Linked DNA regions of Homo sapiens: region 1 is linked to region 2. The links are contacts of gene promoters, found by promoter capture Hi-C in blood cells and fetal thymus (Javierre and others, 2016). All regions are on one chromosome and are shown on one strand. The core of a region is centred on a gene start or on the middle of the fragment in contact, and the rest is flanking DNA. Distances in the headings are between cores, read along the strand shown. Region 1 overlaps ACOT7 (acyl-CoA thioesterase 7). Region 2 holds the start of PHF13 (PHD finger protein 13).

Region 1 (5,471 bases), core at 443-2,942, 260 kb before region 2:
CCAAGAGCGCCTACAGCAGCGGCCCTGGGGTCCAGCCCACATCCTCGCAGGACAGCCCGAGCCTGTTCCGCAGCGGGAGTGAGGCGCCTGGAACAATTGAGGGGAGCCTGGCAGGGAGGGGAGCCGCTCCTGCCCCCTGGCCTCACCTTGAGGGCTGGCCATGCCTCCTGTGCCCTGGGGTCCTCTCAAGGTGGAGTCCCACCTAAGCCACATGGAGCCTGAGTACTGGGTTGAATTGTGTCCCCCAAAAGATGTGTTTGAGAACGAACCCCCAGAAACTATGAATGTCACCTTACTTGAAAAGAGTTCTTTGCATCCAGATACAATCAAGATGAGGTCGCCGTGCCTTAGGAAGGGCCCTAACCCAATGACTGGTGTCCTTATAGGAACAGGGAAGTCTCGACATGAGACACAGGAGGTCCAGGTGAAGATGAAGGCAGAGACGGGAGCAGCCTCCCGTCAAACCTTCGGGAGCATGGCCCTGCCCACCGCTGGTCTCCAGCCTGAGGAAACTGCTTCCGGTTGTCACCTGCCACCTGGTTTGTGGCCATGCCCGGAGGTCTCTGATGCTCCCAAAGAAAGCAGCACTGAGTGGCACAGGGGAGCCCCGAGGCAGCAGCGGCAGCACCCTCAGCACCCTCAGCCCTGCCCAGCACCCTCAGCCCAGCTCAGCACCCTCAGCCCCGCTCAGCACCCTCAGCCCAGCTCAGCACCTGCCACCCACACCTGGCCAGCCCTGGACAGGCCCCTGTGCGGTGACCTTGGCAGCAGCCCTGCAGGGCACTGAACCCTGCCTGCCCCTTCCACAGCCCAGCACACGACCAGCTGGGAGTGTCACCAGTGTCTCTGACTCTGACACAAAAATGTCAGTGCTGGCCAAGCGCAGTGGCTCACACCTGTAATCCCAGCACTTTGGGAGGCCGAGGCGGGCGGATCATGAGGTCAGGAGTTTGAGACCAGGCTGGCCAACATGGTGAAACCCCGTCTCTATTAAAAATAGAAAAAAAATAGCTGGGCGTGGTGGCAGGCTCCTATAATCCCAGCTACTTGGGAGGCTGAGGCAGGAGAATTGTTTGAACCCAGGAGGCGGAGGTTGCAGTGAGCCAAGATCATGCCATTGCACTCCAGCCTGGGCCACAGGGTGAGACTGTGTCTCAAAAAAAAAAAAAAGGACGACGACGACTACACTTTTGTGGCTGGACGCAGTGGCTCACGCCTGTAATCCCAGCACTTTAGGAGCTGAGGCAGGTGGATCACCTGAGGTCAGGAGTTTGAGACCAACCTGACCAACATGGAGAAACCCTGTCTCTACTAAAAATACAAAATTAGCCAACCATGGTGGCACATGCCTGTAATCCCAGCTACCTGGGAGGCTGAGGCAGGAGAATCGCTTAAACCCAAGAAGCGAAGTTTGTGGTGAGCCAAGATCGCGCCATTGCACTCCAGCCTGGGCAACAAGAGCGAAACTCCGCCTCAAAAAAAAAAAAAGTCAGTGCTAAAATGAAAACATTACTACGTGAAACCCAGGGTAACCAGGGGTAGGTGAGCCTTGCTTCCTTTACTCCATGGTGGAAGCTAAAGTGCCCACCTGAAGGTGCACAGCCAGGTAAGGGTCTGGGGTATAGGCAGGTCAGGCCCACACGGGGCCTGCAGGGCAGGCGGCTCATTACTGCCCCCTTCTGACAAAGGCCTCAAACCAGAGGTCAAGCACCAGGTGCGTGTGCTCCACCCTCACCTCAGCTGGAAAGCTGGGTGGGACAGAGGTGTCTGGGCAGACTGTCCCCAGTCATAGGGCTGCAGATGCCACTCATGGCTGGGGGCCACCACCTGGGGCCTGCAGACACTCGGAGCTTCCTTCAGGAGCTCAGCAGAGGCTGCCTTGGCCAGGAGTAGACAAGGGACAGGGGTTGCCCTTCCCGGAAGGAAAGGAGAAGCGGGTCTCCTTATGGCATGGGGGGCGGGGGCCTCACACCAGGCAGCCTTGAGGGACAAAACAGGCACGTGGATGGGTGTGGGGCCTCAAAGTCCAGGCACAAGCACACATAAATGCCTCCTCTTTCCATGGGGGACTCTGCCAAACAGAAGCTCAAGCAGCCCTGCTTCTCCTCTTTTTTTTTTTTTTGAGAGGGAGTCTCGCTCTGTCACCCAGGCTGGAATGCAGTGGCGTGATCTTGGCTCTCTGCAACCTCCACCTCCCGGGTTCAAGTGATTCTCCTACCTCAGCCTCCCAAGTAGCTGGGATTACAGGTGCGTGCCACCATGCCTGGCTAATTTTTGTATTTTTTAGTAGAGACGGGGGTTTCACCATGTTGGCCAGGCTGGTCTCAAACTCCTGACCTCAGTTGATCCACCTGCCTCGGCCTCCCAAAGTGCTGAGATTACAGGCGTGAGTCACAGAGTCTGGCCCCTGCTTCTCCTCTTTGACTTGCTGCCTAAGGCAGTTCCGGCGAAGTCCCTTCAACCCACAGACACGCCACTGCATCTCCAGAAGAGGGAAGGGTGGGAGGAAGGGCTGTGCCAAGGAAAGTTCCAGCAGCACTTGCAGGCCCCCAAGCAGGACGGGGGAAGAGGCCAACAATGGCCCTGAGCTCCCAGCCTCCATTTTGGCCAGGGGCAGGGGACTGACCCAGGAGGCTCCTTGTGCAGCCCACAGACCCCCCCTCCACCGCAGGTAGGAAGCTCAGCAGCGCTGGGAAACCGCAGTGAACCCAGCCCAGCTGAAGGGAGCAGAGGGAAGCCACAGGAGCAAGGCTGGAAAGAAAACCAGGTGCCTTCCTCCCTGGGGACTAGAGCAGGCAGGGGAGTGCCCTGGTCCGTCAGGGGACCCCAGCTCACGCAGGCCTGCACTTCCTATCCCAGCTTCGGCTGACCACCTAATCTTGGGGGTCAGTAAGAGCCAGGCCAGGTGGGTGCCCTACTGCCCTTCCTGGCTGCATGACACCAGCCAGCCTGCTGGGCACAGGGGCCGAGTCCCCTCTACCCACCCTTCCCTTCCAAATGTCCCTAAACAATCCACCCACAGTGGCCCCTGCACGGCCTAGACATGCCCATGACTGGCAGTACCTGCTCAGCTGGAAAGCCATGGTGGCTAGGACATCCCAGGATCAGATGCAGAGAAAGGCGAGGGAGCAGGGAAGCATCACAGAGTCCTTGCCTGACCCAGGACTGTCCCAGCTCCCTGCCACACCGGGCTTGGTGGGGAGCACCCCCCACCCCCAGCTTCCTGAGCTGCCCAATCTGGCCAGGAAGAGGCTGCCTCGCCAATCCAGAGCGTCTACCAGAAACCGGTCGTCATGGAAACCTTGCTTTATAAATAATTACAGAAGAAGTAATTCTGTGAGCTCTTCTGGCTGCCATGCCAGGAGATCAGGAAGGCAGAGGGGCCGCTGCTGAGCGGCCTCAGGGAAGCGGCTATGAGGCTCTGCCTTCTCTGACAGGGCACAAGACCCCCTAGTCTTTCTCCAGGGTCTCAGCCAAAGCCAGGTCTGGCCCCACTGCCGCCTTCTAGAGCTCCCTGAAATGTAGACAGGGGAGGAAGGTCACAGGCCAGCAAGGACTCCAGCAGGTCCAAGCCTGCATCCTGCTGATGGAGCTGGCATCTAAAGCCTGTCCCAAGGGCCAGCTCCCTGGCTGAAGCAAAGTGGACAGGCGGTCCAGCCTCCCCTCTCCTCAGGCCACACCCCTGTCCTTCCCCACTCCCCCTCTTCCTTCCCCCAACCCCTGCTTCAGAGGATGCCATGCCTGTCTTGGGGCTCAGCAACTCCACTACCCTTCCTCCACTCCCGCGGGCTCTTAGGCTGCCGGCTGCCACCTGTGGGCCCTGTGCCCCCCAACCCGTACTCTCTTCACTCCGCCTCCCCTTCTACTGGGTGTCAGGAAGAAAGAAAGAGGCCAAACAATCACAGCGGCCAGGGTGCAGGCTACAGGAGGCCCAGTGCAGGAGGCGGGATGTGTTATCACCACAACCTCCCCCAATGCTGCCCCCACCAGGGCTGCTTTCCCAGGAATCCTGTGACCAGCAAGGGAAATGGAAAGTCCCCAGCCAGAGTGCAGGCCGCACAGCCTCAACCAGGCTGCACCCGCCGGCCTCTGGGCAAGTTTCACATGTTTAGTTGTGAAAGAGAAAGTTAGGGCAGAGAGGGCTGATTAGGCCACTCCCACTGGAACAGCCGGCCCTTATCAAGGCCCTTATCAAACTGCCAGAGCCTGGGCTTATTCTATCTAACCAGCTGGCAGGCACTGAGCCTGGGAAGTCACTCTGGTAAAAGTTAAATAGGTAAATTATTACTAAAAGGATGTCCTTTCACCTATGTGCAAAAATAACAAGTCCTAAAAGGACAAGTCCTCTCACCTATGTGCAAAAAGAAAGAAAAAGTCATTTTCAGCTTACAAACCCCACACGCACTGGGTCCCACAGGGAGGCTGGTGCTGCCCCCGCCCAGGGATGCTTAATGTCTAGAAGCCAGCAGAGGAGAGGATTCTAAAGGGATCCCACCGACCCAAAATGTCTGCCCGGAGGGGAGGTCAGAGGGCTGAGTCTGGCCCAAGCCTGGCAGCTAACCCTGGCTGAAAATGCCCCCTGAGCCCTCCCCACCCAGGCAGCCTGCCGGGGCCCAGGCCCGGGCCATCAGCCTCCTCAGCCCCCTGGCTGCCCATCTCGGCCCATCTTCCTGAGTAGCCGGCATCCCAGGGCCAGGGTCTTGAAGCCACAGCGTCTCCCACCCTGGCACACAGGACAGGTCCTCCCAAACACACTTCCCTCCCCTGACCCCAAATAGCCCATAGTTCCTCTCAGCTCCCAACTCACTGTTTGGCCTTCTCCCCAAAACAGGCCCTGTCGACTTCCTTTCTGAGGACGTTTAGTGACAAGCTTCTCCGAAGCAGGAGCATCGTCTCCCCACGTCTCCTGTCGGCTCCCTCCAGAAGCTGCAGCCAAATGGAACTCAAGGAATGAGCCTGGGCCCCAATACTGTGCCCTTTGGACTTGGCCTCATCCCTCCAGGCGGGCATTGCTGCCTCCCTAAGCAACCCTTCCAGCTGGTCCCAGTCCAGGTGTGCTAGGCCCACCACCCACCCCAAATCAGTGAGGACCTACCAGGCTTCCACAGCAACACAGATTCAAGCCACAACCAGATGGTCCCGCAAAGAGGAAGCACTTCTCAGATAGCTTAGCCTTATGAGTAAATAATCTCAAAGTTAAACAACTACAAGGTGCTATTTCCCATCTAGTAAATTAAAAATCATTTTAATTGACAAAACGAGATGTCTAGAAATGTTCATAGCAGCATTATTCACAACCACCCAAGGATGGAAACAACCCGGTGTCCACCACGGATGGGTAGGTAAACAAAATACGATAAATCCATACAATGAGATATTATCTGACCATAAAAAATGAAGACCTACAGATCCACAGTAATGCACGGACCAGCCTTGAAACCACCCTGGGTGAAAGAAGTCAATCACAAAAG
Region 2 (5,114 bases), core at 1,266-3,765:
CTGACCTCAGGTGATCTGCCTGCCTCGGCCTCCCAAAGTGCTAGGATTACAGGTGTGAGCCACCGTGCCTGGCCCGATAATTTCTTAATATGTGTGTGTGTGGGAAAGGATTTAATGTTTATTATGTGACACATTTACCACAGGGGATAATAATGAGGTGTAAAAAAAAAAATCCCTCTTCTTTCACTTGGGTTTCACCTCTAATAATTATTCTTGGCCAGGCGCGGTGGCTCACGCCTGTAATCCCTGCACTTTGGGAGGCCTAGGTGTGCGGATCACGAGGTCAAGAGATCAAGACCATCTGGCCAACATGGTGAAACCCTGTCTGTACTAAAAATACAAAAACTAGCTGGGCGTGGTGGTGGGCGCTGGTAGTCCAGGCTACTTGGGAGGCTGAGGCAGGAGAATCGCTTGAACCCGGGAGGTGGAGGTTGCAGTGAGCTGAGATGGCGCCACTGTACTCCAGCCTGGCGACAGAGGGAGATTCTGTCTCCAAAAAAAAAAAGAATTATTCTTTTTGGTATTTACATTTTTAAACTACCAACGGGATCAACACCTTAGCAGTGTTTCTTATTCTGGCAAAACGAGTTGCTCCTTGTGAATATGACCTTGGGCAATACAGGCTAACTTCGGGGCATCTGCTTTGGTCACAGTAACCAGGTAACATTCCAAATCTGGCTAAATCATCTGTGCAATTGTATAAGAAGTTGTTAATCAAGTCTCGATGGGCCAAGTCCAATGTCTCTGTTTTAATCAGTAATTTCATGTTTTATCTTGTAAAGTACCTCAATTTATCACCTTTGGGAAGCCCTCCAATGGGCTACAATATTGCAGAAATAATAAAACAACAACAACAACAACAACAGTAAGCTACCATTTATTTAGCCAGGCACTACGCTAAAATTTAACAGCTTAGGAAACTGAGGCTCAGAGAAGTATTTTTTTTTTTTTTTTTGAGACAGAGTCTCGCTCTGTCGCCCAGGCTGGAGTGCAGTGGCACGATCTCGGCTCACTGCAAGCTCCGCCTCCCGGGTTCAAGCAATTCTCCCGCCTCAGCCTCCCGAGTAGCTGGGATTACAGGTGTCCGCCACCACGCCCATCTAATTTTTGTATTTTTAGTAAAGACGGGGTTTCACCATGTTGGTCAGGCTGGTTTCGAACTCCTGACCTCGTGATCCACCCGCCTCGGCCTCCCAAAGTGCTGGGAATACAGGCGCGAGCCACCGCGCCCGGCCGCTCAGAGAAGTATTTCTAAGATTAACACCATCTCCTAACTATTAAATATCTTCATCAGAATGATCATAACCCTTGAAATAGCAACAGCCAGCTTGATGGAGCATTCGGCGCCTGTCAAATATCTTACTAGTATCTCCAAGAGTTCGTTTTCTAATTTGAATTTTCAATTTTGTGTCACTCCCCTTTAACTTCTTCGAAGCTACCAAACAGGTTACTGAATCATCTGCGTTTTGTACTTACCTTTTTCCCCCACTTTCGAATATTAAAAATGTTCCCGTCAGACCGCCTTTTGGTCACCGCATAGGGGCAGTCCCCACCGTGTCCGGCCAGCCTTCCACACGTACAGCTGTCGGATACTCTGCGGTCCAGCGTTTACACACTGCCCATCCCAGTTAAACACCACTAAACAAGTACCAGTCGATGCCAGCGCCAAACACCGCGTCTCCGCCTCGCCCTGCGGGCCGGAGGATATTCAGGAGAGTGGGAAAACGGCCGGTCCCAAGGTTAGGCTTAGGCGGCAACAGAAAGCAAACTGAACGCACACCTCTTTAGAACACTGACAACGCTGGCCCGGTGTTTTTAATGCACGAACCCGGCCACCTCGAGTGAATCCCGCAGATGCCTAGAGAAGAGCCCGGTCCAGTCCCGGCCCCGCGGGCCCGGAGCAGGGAGCCGCACGAAGCCCGCAGCCGCGAAAACAACTTCGCTGAGCCCGGCCTGGAGCGGGGGCCGGGCGGCGACTCCGCCCTCAGCGGGGAGCGGGGAGCGGGGAGCGATGCCCGGGGCGGCCGCGACGTCAGCGTCCCCGCCCCTGCCGCCCCTACTCCCGGCCAGGCCTCGGGGACCCCCGCCCCACAAAGGGGCGCGAACCCCAAGTAGGAGACGAGGAAGGGTAGGTGCCAGCCGCCGCCGCCCTTCGCAACCCGGGCCGTCAGCCCCGCCCCCACCGCCGCAGCGACTCCCGCCCCCGCGCCCGCCGAGACCAAGGCGCTACCGCTCACACTGCCCCTCCCCCCGCGGCCGAGCCGGCGCGGGCCCCCGCACCTCCCCCGCTCGCGCGGCCTCGAGTCCAGAAGACCCGCCTCCACACACCGGGGCCGCCGCCGCGGAGCCTCATGGGGGTTGGAGTCCCCAAGGTTTCCTTTGTGCGCAGTATTGGCGGGGCCTTGGACTACCACTCCCACAAGGCACCGCGCCCGCCTCCCGCGCCACGCCCCCTCGCCGCTGGCTTCCAGTCGCCACCCAGACTACATTTCCCGACAGGCCTCCCGGCTCTCCCGCCCTCCCTCCCGAGACACGAGCCGAACTGGGCGTCAGGTCGGGGAGCCGGTCGGGTTCCCGCTCACCGCCGCCGCCGCCGCCCCCTGCAGCCACTCTCCCGCCTCTACCGCCGCGGGAGCTGCATCGTCCACTCCGGTCGGCGGTGGAACCGCCAGTCCGGGGTCACAGAGCTTGAGAAGCGACGCGCTGAGCCCCCCATCACCTCCAGCCCGGGCGACCCCTCCCGGGTCCGCCCTCGCCCTGCGCAGCCGCCCGAGCCCCCAGCCCCGGGCGGCCCCGCTCCAGCATCCCAGCTCCTGCACTCTCGCAGCCGCCGCCGCCCCCCGCCCGGAACATGGACTCTGACTCTTGCGCCGCCGCCTTCCACCCGGAGGTGAGTGAAGCTGTGCGTCCGAATCGCCCCCGACCACCCCCTCCGCGATCCTGCCGTCCTCAGGCAGCCAGACCCCCGGTCGCCCGGAGCGCCGCCCTCCCCTTCCCCCGCTTTCCCCTCGTCGGCCCCCCCGGGAGCCCAACCCCCGCCCCCTGCTCGGGCCCGCGCTCGGTCCTCTCCGCCGGGCCTCGCCTCCGCGTCCCCTCCGCGGACCTCCGCGTCCTCCCCGCGCCCTTTCCCCAGGGCCGTTGCGCCTATTTCTCTCCCCCGGGCCGCCCCTCTCCGGCCTCGCGTCGACCTGGGACCTGTCGGCGCCCCCAGCCCCTCCCCGCCGGCCTGCTTACTCTTTCCCCGCCCCCGGGGACGCGGTCCGAGCCGCCGCCCGCCCCTGGCTCCGGTTGCTCTCGAGGAGTTTTAGGCCCCCCTCGGACCGGGGTCGGCTCCCGAGGCCCCCGGCTGCTCCCCCGATCCCCCGGGCCCGGTGGCCCGCGCCCCGCCCCCTGACTCCGCGCGGGGCCCAGTCGGCCCCCGCCCCCTACGGCTCTCGGGGGCCGCGTCCTCCGGGGGCCCCACCCGCTCTGGGGACCCGAGTCCTGCCCCCACCCACCGCCCCCCGGCGCGCTGGCCTCTCTCTTCGGGCCCCCGCCCCCCGCCCGCGGGCTTTGCTGGCTCCGCCCCGGCTCACTCCCCCTCCTTCCGGGGATCGGCCCTCGGGGCTCCCGGCCTCCCCCCCGCGCGGTCCCCTCCCCCCAGCCGAGGCTCGTTGGGGTCGGGGGTGCGGGTCCGGCGACCGCGGGCGGGTGGGGGAGGGGAGGCGGCGCCGGAGCCCGCCGGTCTCGCTGCCGCCCCCGGGGGTTCGCAGGGCCTCCCCAGGCCTGGGACCCCGGAATCCTGCCTGGCGCACCCCCCTCACACATACTCGCGGGATGGGCCCCGCACCTTCGGGGGCCGAGTGTCGCGGGGGGCGGCTGCCGCGGGAGGGCGGGTGGGGGCCGCTCCGCCATCTGCTTTCCGAGGAGGCGGCCGGGGGGGCGGGCGGCGTGGGCCGTGTGGGGGCGGCGTGGAACCCCCAGTCCCCGCGCCGGTGCCTCCCGCGCGCCCCCGGCCCGAGGCCGTCGCCGCCCTCCACTTGGCATTCGGGTTTTTGACCCACTTCTGCTGGTTCCCCGCCGAAAGAAAAGTTCTTCGCGGGAGTTGGAGGCCCGGGTGGCGGCCCGCGGTTCCCGTGGCTGGGCAGGCTCGCCAGTGCGGGGAGCGCGGTCAACGCGGGCCTTCGCCTCCGCTCCGTGGGCGGCCCTGGGGTCCAAGGGGGTGGGAGAGGAGAAGGTTTGCTTGAACCAGGTTGAGAAAATAATTTTCTAAGGGCACCGACTTTCTCGAAAGAAAACCCGCGGGCCGCACGCCTGCTCCTCGCGGCGGGAGGGGCGGCCCGAGACCCCTGCCCCCCATTTCCCCACCGGCTCTCCCCCAGCAGAGTGGCGGCCGGGTAACAGCACCTCGGGAAGGATGGGGGTGGGTCGGACAAGGCACTGAAAGGAACCTCAGGGAACGTGCCGGGCGAATAAACAGCAATACGGCACACTTGTTTTGCTTAGGAGCAAATAAGAGCTCCATCTCTCCGTGCTTCTCTCAGGAGAAAATATCTTTTTGTGATGGGTGTTTCTAGATGGAATGGGGCTGGGACCCGCGAGCAAAAACCTCCACTATTCCGTTTAAATGTAAGACTAAGCTTCGCAGTAAGGTTCTTGGTTTATTGTGAGTTGAGATAGTTGGGTGCCTGGCATCCCGACTGGCTGGGACAGTGGAGGGGACCCTCTGAGCACGAGAGAGGGGTCCTCAGGTGGCGCTAGCTTGGCAGGGTCAGCCAGGAGTGAACTCCAGGGTCCAGGTCTCCGAGAGCTCTGGAGAATGAGTGGTTGATTTTTTTTTTTTTTTTTTTTTGAGTTGGAATCTTAGCTCTGTCTACCGGGCTGGAGTGCAGTGGCGCGATCTTGGCTCACTGTAACCTCCGCCTCCGGGTTCACGCGATTCTCCTGCCTCAGCCTCCTGAGTAGTTGGGACTACAGGTGCACGCCACCACGCCCGGCTAATTTTTGTATTTTTAGTAGAGACGGGGTTTCACCATGTTGGTCAGGCTGGTCTCGAACTCCTGACCTCGTGATCCGCCCGCCTCGGCCTCCCAAAGTGCTGGGATTACAGACGAGAGCCACCGCGCCCGGCGAGT

What was found. Contacts are between HindIII fragments. The CHiCAGO score rates a contact against its expected background, and 5 or more counts as called.
Region 1: a fragment that was not itself captured here is called in contact with the fragment with the promoter of PHF13 in region 2 in 4 of 17 cell types (non-activated CD4 T cells, naive CD4 T cells, naive CD8 T cells and 1 more); the score reaches 6.1 in non-activated CD4 T cells.

What each region holds. Positions count from the first base shown.
Region 1 is chr1:6,355,763-6,361,233 of GRCh38, forward strand. All of the region lies in intron 1 of ACOT7 (acyl-CoA thioesterase 7), which reads right to left. Among named protein-coding and RNA genes, the nearest start is that of ACOT7, 35 kb to the right of the region's middle. RefSeq lists enhancers at 1,338-2,305, 3,006-3,185, 3,296-3,345, 3,366-3,595, 4,296-4,345. The HindIII fragment of the contact is 6,351 bases long and covers 1-4,868 here.
Region 2 is chr1:6,611,216-6,616,329 of GRCh38, forward strand. It overlaps PHF13 (PHD finger protein 13), which reads left to right and starts at 2,516. Exons shown (of 4, transcript NM_153812.3): 1 at 2,516-2,890. The coding sequence starts at 2,852. LOC107984913 (a long non-coding RNA gene) reads right to left here and starts at 2,172. Exons shown (of 2, transcript XR_001737882.3): 1 at 1,477-2,172. RefSeq lists silencers at 1,965-2,014, 2,065-2,844, 3,015-3,104, 3,245-3,704. The HindIII fragment of the contact is 6,383 bases long and covers 1-4,617 here.